Linked DNA regions of Homo sapiens: region 2 is linked to region 1. The links are contacts of gene promoters, found by promoter capture Hi-C in blood cells and fetal thymus (Javierre and others, 2016). All regions are on one chromosome and are shown on one strand. Each heading gives the region's core, a stretch centred on a gene start or on the middle of the fragment in contact. The rest is flanking DNA. Distances are from core to core; before and after follow the strand shown.

Region 1 (4,887 bases), core at 1,248-3,747:
GCATTGTAAAACCAGTTAGCACAGCTATTCAGTCATTTACAAAATATTTATTAAGCGTTTATTATGCAATAGGCAGTGTTCTAGTCACAGAGACGTGGGAGAAAATAAAAACAGACACAGTTCCTACTGCCATGGATCTGGCATTCTAAATGATCTCCCTCCAACTCAAAGACCTGGCACACTAGAACTCTGACTGTAGGCTGTGGTGAGGCCACAGTAGACAGGCAAAATGGCTAAATGACTGAAGAGCAGACAGCGTGACCTCTTCAAAGGCAGTCTATTTTTTTTAAGCAGAATCAAGTGCCCCTCATTCTCATATTGCCCCACTTCAGTTCCTGGGCCTTGGAGCTTAATACAGATCATGGCATCCAACTGACTTTTATTCTGCTTTTTTTTTTTTTTTTGAGACGGCATCTCGCTCTGTTGCCCAGGCTGGAGTGCAGTGGCATGGTCTCGGCTCACTGCCATCTCCACCTCCTGGGTTCATGCCATTCTCCCGCCTCAGCCTCCCGAGTAGCTGGGACTACAGGTGCCCGCCAACACACCAGGCTAATTTTTTGTATTTTTAGTAGAGATGGGGTTTAATCATGTTAGCCAGGATGGTCTTGATCTCTTTTTTTTTTTTTTTTTGAGACGGAGTCCCGCTCTGTCGCCCAGGCCGGACTGCGGACTGCAGTGGCGCAATCTCGGCTCACTGCAAGCTCCGCTTCCCGGGTTCACGCCATTCTCCTGCCTCAGCCTCCCGAGTAGCTGGGACTACAGGCGCCCGCCACCGCGCCCGGCTAATTTGGTCTTGATCTCTTGACCTCGTGATCCGCCCGCCTCAGCCTCCCAAAGCGCTGGGATTACAGGCGTGAGCCTGATTTTTATTCTGAAAGCCAAGGCTAGGGCTCAAAGAAACTTCCAGAAATATAAAGATGTTTTGTTTTGTTTTTCAGTTAGATAATTAGATACATTACAGCAGAGAAATGGGGAAATTATTTGATACTTTTTAAAAAGCATATCTAAAATGACTAACATTAATGTATAGGTAAAATTTCATAAAAATTAATGATCACTATAATTGTTCCTAATCTCTGTTTTCTATACTAGGAAAAACACAATTTATATATGAATTTTTGCTATATGTAGACAGAATTGTTCCTAATCTCTGCTTTTTATAATAGGAAAAACACGATTTATATATGAATTATTTGCTATATGTAGAGAGAATATAATACCTCTTTTACCAAACATGAAGCCCTAGCCTTGATTTCTGTGGTACATTAAAAAAATATACTTTGCATTGCCAAAAGAGACATAGTATTGGGTTTTGATCCGTATTTTCTGTTGCTCATTCATTACATTGGTGTAAAAGAAGGAAAATCTTAAAAGACATGGAAAGCAGCTCCCTTATAGAGAGCTATCAAAAGAGCGTCCCAAGAGTGTCCTGACCACACTTTTCTTCCCAGATCATGGGCCCCAGCATCTCCGAGCACACACTGTCTTCCACAGGATCTTCTGACAAGTCTGCTTCACCCTAGGAATCCCCATGATCAATATGAGAGAATGAAGAGAAGGATAGGCTGCCATGAGTGTCTCCCAGATGAAGACACTGGTGAGATCAGGAGGATAAGTCTTGGAGGTGATGGAGAAGGGGCTGGCCATGATATAAACCAGGTGAAGTAAGAGGAAGCAGCCCAAGGACTTCAGCGCAGTGATGTGAGCCTTGGCCCGGACATCCCTCCTACCAGCTGAATGGACCTTCATCTTCTTGTGGTGTGTATACAAAGAGACAATCAGCATCCCAGAGGAAACAAGAAACACCACTAAAGGCAAATAACTTCCTGAATTGAGCTGAAATGCATACAGGTACTGCCAGCTTTCAAAGGGATACCGAATGCTGCTGTTTCCTTGGGGAGGATGATAGAATGTTAAGCCAATTTGGACTGTAAGTAACAAATTGATTATAAAGTAGCCCAGAAGGCACCAGAGACTCAGGTTATAGGCCCTCTGCTTCAGCCACAAGTAGGCCGGGCGATCGAAGGTCGTGATCTTCTTGCAATAGAAGACACTGAGGAAGGTGGCAAACCATAAGCTGGCCTGGCTTACCAGGACCCAGAAGATACTAAGATAGCGAAGCCAACGGCTGCTCTGGAAAAGTGGAAACAAGCTTAAGTCCAAAATGATCAGCCACTGCAGGAGAAATCGGCAGCCAGCCAGGCCCAGGATAATGAGGTTATATGAGGACCAGTTGAATTTTCTGATCCATTCTCTAAAACTCCAGACCACCAGGCTTCCATTTCCAATTAAACCGATGAGAAATTCAACCACTGCCACCAGCATCAGCAGTCCTAGGCCAGCGCTCAGCATGGCTGGGGAGAGGAGGCTCTCACTGCTCCTGGCTGAGGTCAGATCCCCTGGTAGTGATAACACACCAGGGTAAATTTTCACACCACAAAATCTGGATTTGGCCTCGTCCTTCCGTAATCTGTCTTCAAGCGAGACTGAACAGCTGTGATGAGGAACAGAGAGGTTGGAAGTTATGATACCATCTGTATTTGCATCTACATGAATGAACCCTGAGTGTAGAACCAGAGATTGCAAACAGTACCACAGACACCGGCTCTCCATCTCAAAGGTTTTGGGCCAAAGTCTAGACACCAGGGTATAACGTAACAAGGCCCCTCAACAAGAAAGACCAAATCAAAACATGCTCAGGTGCTATACAGTGCCAGTTATGAGCTCATATGCTATATAAAAAAAGAAATTTTATTTTCATGAAAAGAACACTGGGCCAGGCATGGTGGCTCACACCTGTAATCCCAACACTTTGAGAGGCCAAGGCGGGTGGATCACCTGAAGCCAGGAGTTCGAGACCACCCTGGCCAACATGGTGAAGCCCCATCTCTACTAAAAATACAAAAATTATCTGGGCGTGGTGGTGGCTGCCTGTAGTCCCAGCTACTCGGGAGGCTGAGGCAGGAGAACCACTTGAACCCAGGAGATGGAAGCTGCAGTGGGCCAAGATCGCGCCACTGCACTCCAGCCTGGGCGACAGAGCAAGACTCCATCTCAAAAAAAAAAAGTAAGCATGCTGAGAACTCTCTACGAAGCTGTAGGCAGGCAGGCCACTGCCCGTCTCTGGGCCTCAGTTGCTCTATTAATAACTGAATGGATTGTAGGATGAGATTTCCATTCCTTCGGACTAAATTTACAAAGTGCTTATTTTGTGTCAAACTACGGTGTACTAGGCACAGGGGACGGCGCCATTATAATACACAGTCCCTGCCTCCAGGTAGCATCCATTGTACATCATCTCCACCAAGCTGCAAGGCCTGGTACTCTAAAACTCTGGCTGTAGGCTATGGAGGGGCAGAGGTGGTCGCGATCTTCTACTGGACTAAAAATCTAGATGAGGCTTGAACTCGTCCAAAAACAGTGTTTCTTCAGTGACTTTCTGATAGAGACATAGTGCCTCTCTCTCCCCACCTGCCCCAATCTAGCCTGGCAGTGGAATTTGCCACCGATCCTGGTAGCCAACTGACACGTTTCCAGAAAGCTAGTCTGGCATCAAAAAAACCAAAGTATCCAGAAATATAAAGGTAGGTTTTTGACTACTTTACTACCGGTGTTGAGAGGCTAAACTACATAGAAAATTGAGATAATAATTTAGCTAATTCCCCTAAGAAAAGTGCTTGCCTAAAAAATATACAGGCTCACCTCTTTTTAAAATATATTATTTTCAAACTATAGCTATTTTCTACTTCCTTTTATCAAAAACATAGCATATTGGCAAAGAAAACTTGATTATCTGCAGTAATTTTTAAAAATGTGATACTTCCCATGCAAAATATGAAAACTCGGTTTTGACTTCTGTAGTTTATTAAAATGATGTGATTTGCATTGCTTAGAGAGCAATAAGCTCCAGTTTCTAGCCTGTTTTTCATGTTACCCTTTCATTTTGTTTCAAAATCAAAGAAGAAATGAGGAGAATTGAGAATAAAAATTTCATTTTTCTAAAATCTACAGTTATTTTTACTGTTGTCAGTGATACAGTTAAGGGCCTGATTAGATCCTTCTTCCAAGTCATGGCCTCTAGGATTTCCATGTACATATCATCTCCTACAGAATTCTCTGACAAGTCTGATTCCTCATAACCATTACAATAGACGGAAATGAAGTATAAACAGCCATGAGTGTTGCAGAGATGGCAAGAATGGTGAGATCAGAGGGAGATTAGAAGGTCATGGAAAAGTGTCTGGCCAAGGCAGAAACCATGTAAAGGGGGAAGTTCAGAGCGATGAGCACCTTGGTTTGAGCCTCCTCCTGACAGCTGTGTGGTCCTCCATCTTCCTGTGATGTCTTTACAAAAAGACAAGTGGAACAGAAACATCACAAATAGCAATCAGTCTCCTTCACTGGACAGCAATCTATAAAAATAACAGATTTAAAATGGGATGCAGGATGTTGCTGTTTCCTGTTAAGGGTTTTTAAAGGGTCCAGCCAACAAGAGCTGAGAAATAAAAAGTGATCTTGAAAGACACTAGCAAAAAACAAAAACCCAGTCTTTTCAGCTACAAGAAGTCAGCGGGACAAAGGTCATGATCTCCATGCAGCAGAAGCCACTGAAGAAAGTGGCAAACTACATGTTGGCCTGGCTTACCAGGACTCGAAGACATTAAGATAGTAAAGCCAACCACTGCTCTGGGAAAGTGGAAACAGACTTATGTCCAACATGATCGGCCTGAGTAGGAGAAAGTGGCTACTTACCAGAATCATGAGAATTTATAGGGACTCCTTACATTTTTTTGACCCATCCTCTAAAACTGCAGACCACAGGGACTCCATTTCCAACCAGGCCAATGAGAAATTCAGCCCCTGCAATGGGCATCAGCAATCCTAGGG
Region 2 (4,887 bases), core at 1,060-3,559, 220 kb before region 1:
CTGCAGTTGTTTAAAATGGCCATCAAGTTCTCTTAACACACTTTGTGTCAAGAGGTGGAGTCTGTCGCTGTTCCTGTTGAAGCTGGGCCGCCCTGAGACTGATCTGATCAACAAAATGCATCAAAAGTGATACTATGCTGGTTTAGGTGTGGTATTTAAGAGAACTGGAAGCTTTTGCCTCTGTCTCTTGCAGCACTGAGCCACCATGTAAGAAGTTCAGCTACCCTGCTGGAGAGAGTACCAAGAGAGACTCCGTGACTACATGGAGGGGAAGAGGGTGCAGTCAGTCTTACCACCATTTTCACCAAGGTACCAGGTATGTGAGTAAAGTCATCTTGAAACCTCCAGACAAGATCAGCCACCAACTAAATACCACCATATCATGTAATCCCAGTAAATGCTATGTGGAACAGAACCATTCAGCCAAACCCTGGCAGAATCTCTGACTTACAAAATCACTACATATAATAAAACAATTGTTGCTGCAAACCACTAAGTTTGGATAGTTTGTAATTCAGTAGACAAATGGAGAAGCTTGCCCTAAGAAAACAGAAGTCTAAGAAAATAGAAGACTTAGAGCAATTTCAGTTAGACTGGTGCTTTGGCTGGAATGTGCCCCCTCCAAAATTCACGTGTTGCCAGTATGTTAGTATTAACAGTGGGGCCTTTAAGAGGTGATTAGGCCATGAAGCCTCCTCCCAGACAAAGGGAATTAGGTGCCCTTATAAAGGAGACAGTGGGCTGTCTCTTGCTGTCTACGTGCTGCCATGTGAGGATGCAGCAAGAAGGTCCTCACAAGATGCCAGCACCTTGGTCTTGTTCTTTCTAGTCTCCATCCATAACTATGATAAGTAAATTTCTGTGTTTGATAAATTACTCAGTCTTGGGCATTATGTTATAGCAGCACAAAAGAACCTGATGTTGTGAACAAAAAAGGTGGAACCAGAAAGTCTCCACATGAAGAAAATGAGTAGAATGAGACAAAGTATCCCATCTTCAAATAGAGCAGGAATTTTAGAAGTTGAAAGCACTTGATGATAAAGGAATTTCAAATCACCCTCTATTCATCAAAATGTTCTCTAGCTGTTTTTATGTGCAGCAAGTTTGAACTAACGAATGAATAAAATTAGTCTCGACTCTGTGAAATATCTTAAATGTAGGCTATTTTATAATATGTGCATCTTGAGTCAGGTTTTGAAATTTAGCTTGTTAGGCTGGCCACTTCATTTAACCTCAAAGTGAAGTCTAACAGCAAAGACTTTTTAAAACAAAGTTGCCACCTCTGCCATTCCCATAATCCAGTCTTTCTAGTCCCCCAAATCAGACTGTGGTGAATATTCAGAGAAACATTTGCCAGAACCTTAGAGATCACTATTCTAAAATATTTTGAGGTTAGTATAGTGTTCAATAGTCATTTAATCGAACGTTTAATGAGTATGTTTAGCTGAACACATACTGTCTCATTTTACTTAGAAGGATTTCACAGTTTATAAGAAAATGTGACTTACTGATCAAGTCAAAGAGCTTTCCAGAAGCAAAGCCAGGACTGAGTAACTCAATAACCTGGCTCCCCTTACATCCTTTCACTTGACCAATGGCTACATTATCATTTCAAGGTGCCAAACATAAACTTAAGTCTTTTAAGACTTTAAGTTTTTATCTGGGCTCACTGCTCTTCCTAGCACCATATAATGGCTATTAACTGATGTTGTGTAAACACAGAGTAATTTAAAGGTGAAGACTCACAATGATCTTGGCAAAATGCAATACCCTTGCTGCTATATCATAAAACATGATCCCCAACATATTGATAATAAACTGGAATTTGGAAAAGGATATCATAAGCCAAATAAATGAGTAATACATAGACAATTACCAAGTGTGTTCGCTGTAAAAGATGACAAAGCTTCTGTTTAAGAAATATGGTAACCTCTCAAATTATTGAGATTACCACTTATGTTATTGTTATCCTTGGAAATCAACTGTGAATTTCTCTCAGCTTAATTACTCTGCAACATTTACTTAGGGCATGCGGGTTTATCTTTAAGCACGTAACCTGCCCTCCCATGTTTACACAGTGCTTTATAGCCCTGAAAAATCAAAGGATTTAAAAGTATTAACTATCATTTCTTTCCTAAGCTGGATATCTGGAATTTGATGAAATATTCCTGCTCCCTGCCATCAATGGGATCTTTCAACTCTGCGTTCTGGAATTGGGGATAAAAGACTTCATCAAGAAAGTGGAAAGGATTTTAGAATTCAAAGGTTTGGAATAAGTGTAGACAGTTGTCTTTAAAATCTGCATAGAAGTATAGCCTAAGTGAACCTATAGAGGCACAGAGGTAGGGTCTTAGATGATAGAAGACAGTGTTTGAACTTGGCTCAACGTACAGTAATAAACCACTATATGTACTGAAGTTGGGTAGAAATAATAACAAAAGTTGGATGTAAAAAAGAGAAATTCTAATCCCACATGTAACGGAATGGATAGGAGAAATGGAATTCAGAAGGGATGCCAAGGGGCACCTGGAGCAACCCAAGCATGAGGAAATGATGATCTAGGGATGGCTGCAAGAATGGAAATGAAATGCCTCTTCTGGAAATTATTGTTAAGGAAAATATTTTAAAATACATGGAATACTGGCCAAAGGGATAGAAGGGATGAGCCAAGCAGAAGTTCTGCTGTTTCTGTCTCAAGAACTAGAAGCTTAATAGAACTACTAGCAGAAATCTGGTAGCTGAGAAGGAAAAGCAGATTTGGTGAGGAGGTAACGAGTTCAGCTGATATGATAGGAAGGAATTCAGTGAAGATGCCCTCCAACCAGCTTCAAGCCCAGAACTAAAGATCCGAACTAGAGTTAGATAATCGAGTGATCTTTTTTTCTAAGATCCATGAAGGGGACTCCTAGAGTCCATTCTCTCCAAAGAAGAGTCTCCCAAGAGTACTCAGGGTGTCAGGGTGGCTTGATACAGTACTTCCTCCTGTACTGGAAAAGGATTCCCTCTCATAACTGGGAGAATCAAACAATGGTATTTACAACCAAGAATCATCTGCAGAGAAAGTTATTCTTTTAGTTCTTTTACATATAATCTTGGAGGACAGATGATAAGAATGATAAAATTATATAGCAATGGTTTCGACACCAGAACATTCTGCCTAGCCTATCTGTTGTGTTCATAACTTCTTCCCACCATCCTCTTTCAGCTACATTCCCTTTAATGTGAACACCATACAAACACATCATTATCCATAGCCTCAGCTCTCAACAACAATCTGGATCAGCATACCGCTCTCAGGATTCAGAAAACATACAACAAAAGTTCTAAGATGTATCTTCTACAAGAAAATGAATCATTGAAAGTGCCAGTATTTCTCTCTGGCTGAGCAAAAAAGGAGAATGCCAATTAATAAACGCCAAGGCCGTGGAGTAATTCAGTTAGATATGACATGTAGAAAAGCCAAAGTTCATTTATTGAACTTCAATCTTGATACCACAGTATTTATCAAAAGATCTTACAATAAAGCACCAAAGAAACATTACTATGGCTGTATCTGAAGTGCACCAATACCCAGTGACAAGATGGAGTGTTGCAGTAGTGTGACATACTGAGAATGTGATAATCTAGGTGAGCTTCCAAGTAATGAGTGAGCTATTGAGTACAGCTTGAGTGAGCTATTGAGTACAGCTCAATTGAGCTATTGAGTAACTTGCACAATATGACAGGGAAAGTAAATGCATGTGCATCAACTTTCTGTAAATTTGGCACATCAAACATAGGGTGTGGGCAAGTACTTTATAATCATCATAATCAGGTGGACTTCAGCCGATAATCTAGAAACACTGGGCTAAGGTAAATGCCCAGATGTCTGCACTGTCTTTAATCTGGTATTCATTACCTTCTTCCTTCCAAAACAGAGCTCTTGAAACTTTGCCCTTATTTTAAATAATGTTTTGTGAATTTTTACTGCAGATTCTAGATGAGCTTTGGAAATTCTGAAAGGAGGAGAGACATACAGGGCATGAACAGAGTCAGAAAGAACTAGTAATCATGTAGTGTTGCCATATAAAAGACAAATACGTTTTTAGTAAGTAAGCCCAAAATCTTTCACGGGACACACTTATACTAAAAGCTTATTCATTGTTTTTCTGAAATTTGAATTTGGCTGGGCAACCGCACTTTTATTTGCTGAATCTGGCAACCCAAGGGAATTTTCCAGGTCTTCCTTTCCTGAAGCTGCACTGTCATACAAGCATGGACACAGGTTAATTTGCCTGAGCCACTAATGGCTGCAACATAAACACCTCTCTTGAGAGTCACTAATAAAGAAAACCAAAACAAAACAACAAAAAAAAATAAACTATCAAGTTGCATAAATTCTAAAATGGAAACAAAATTCATAACTCAAACCTTTGTTGGCGGCTGGTCAGGGATGCAATTAATTCGTTCCAATTCATTTACCACTGGACATTCAGCAGAAACAGGAGTGGTACCAGTTGTTCCAGGATCTGGGGGACCCGTTGTCCTAGCATGTGTGGTACCAGTTGTTCCAGGATCTGGGGTACCAGTTGTCCCAGGATCTGGGGTACCAGTTGTCCCAGGATCTGGGGCTATACCAAAAGCAAACATAAAAAGACCATTAGACAAATTTAATTTCACAGACATTCAATAGTTCTCAACACCTCCAATTAACTCCACTACTGAGTAGGCTTCACTCTGATGACCTCAAAATTTATGCATTCACTTTATAAAATGTCACTTTGTTCCTGCTGACTGTATTTACCTTTGTGTATCTCTATATCATCTCCTTCTACTCCCAACTCCCTCCCCTACAAGATAGTATGTATAAGAGCAAGGACTCCGCCTTTAGACTAGAAGCTCATGAAG

What was found. The method cuts DNA at HindIII sites, captures the fragments that hold promoters and counts their contacts. A CHiCAGO score of 5 or more calls a contact.
Region 2: a fragment that was not itself captured here is called in contact with the fragment with the promoter of TAS2R5 in region 1 in 1 of 17 cell types (monocytes); the score reaches 5.3 in monocytes.

Annotation. Positions count from the first base shown.
Region 1 is chr7:141,787,827-141,792,713 of GRCh38, reverse strand. TAS2R5 (taste 2 receptor member 5) reads right to left here and starts at 2,497. Exons shown (of 1, transcript NM_018980.3): 1 at 1,347-2,497. The coding sequence starts at 2,352. The coding sequence ends at 1,453. It also overlaps the pseudogene TAS2R6P. The HindIII fragment of the contact is 7,447 bases long and covers 2,155-4,887 here.
Region 2 is chr7:142,008,229-142,013,115 of GRCh38, reverse strand. It overlaps MGAM (maltase-glucoamylase), which reads right to left. Exons shown (of 71, transcript NM_001365693.1): 3 at 4,411-4,610. Among named protein-coding and RNA genes, the nearest start is that of MGAM, 15 kb to the right of the region's middle. The HindIII fragment of the contact is 801 bases long and covers 1,909-2,709 here.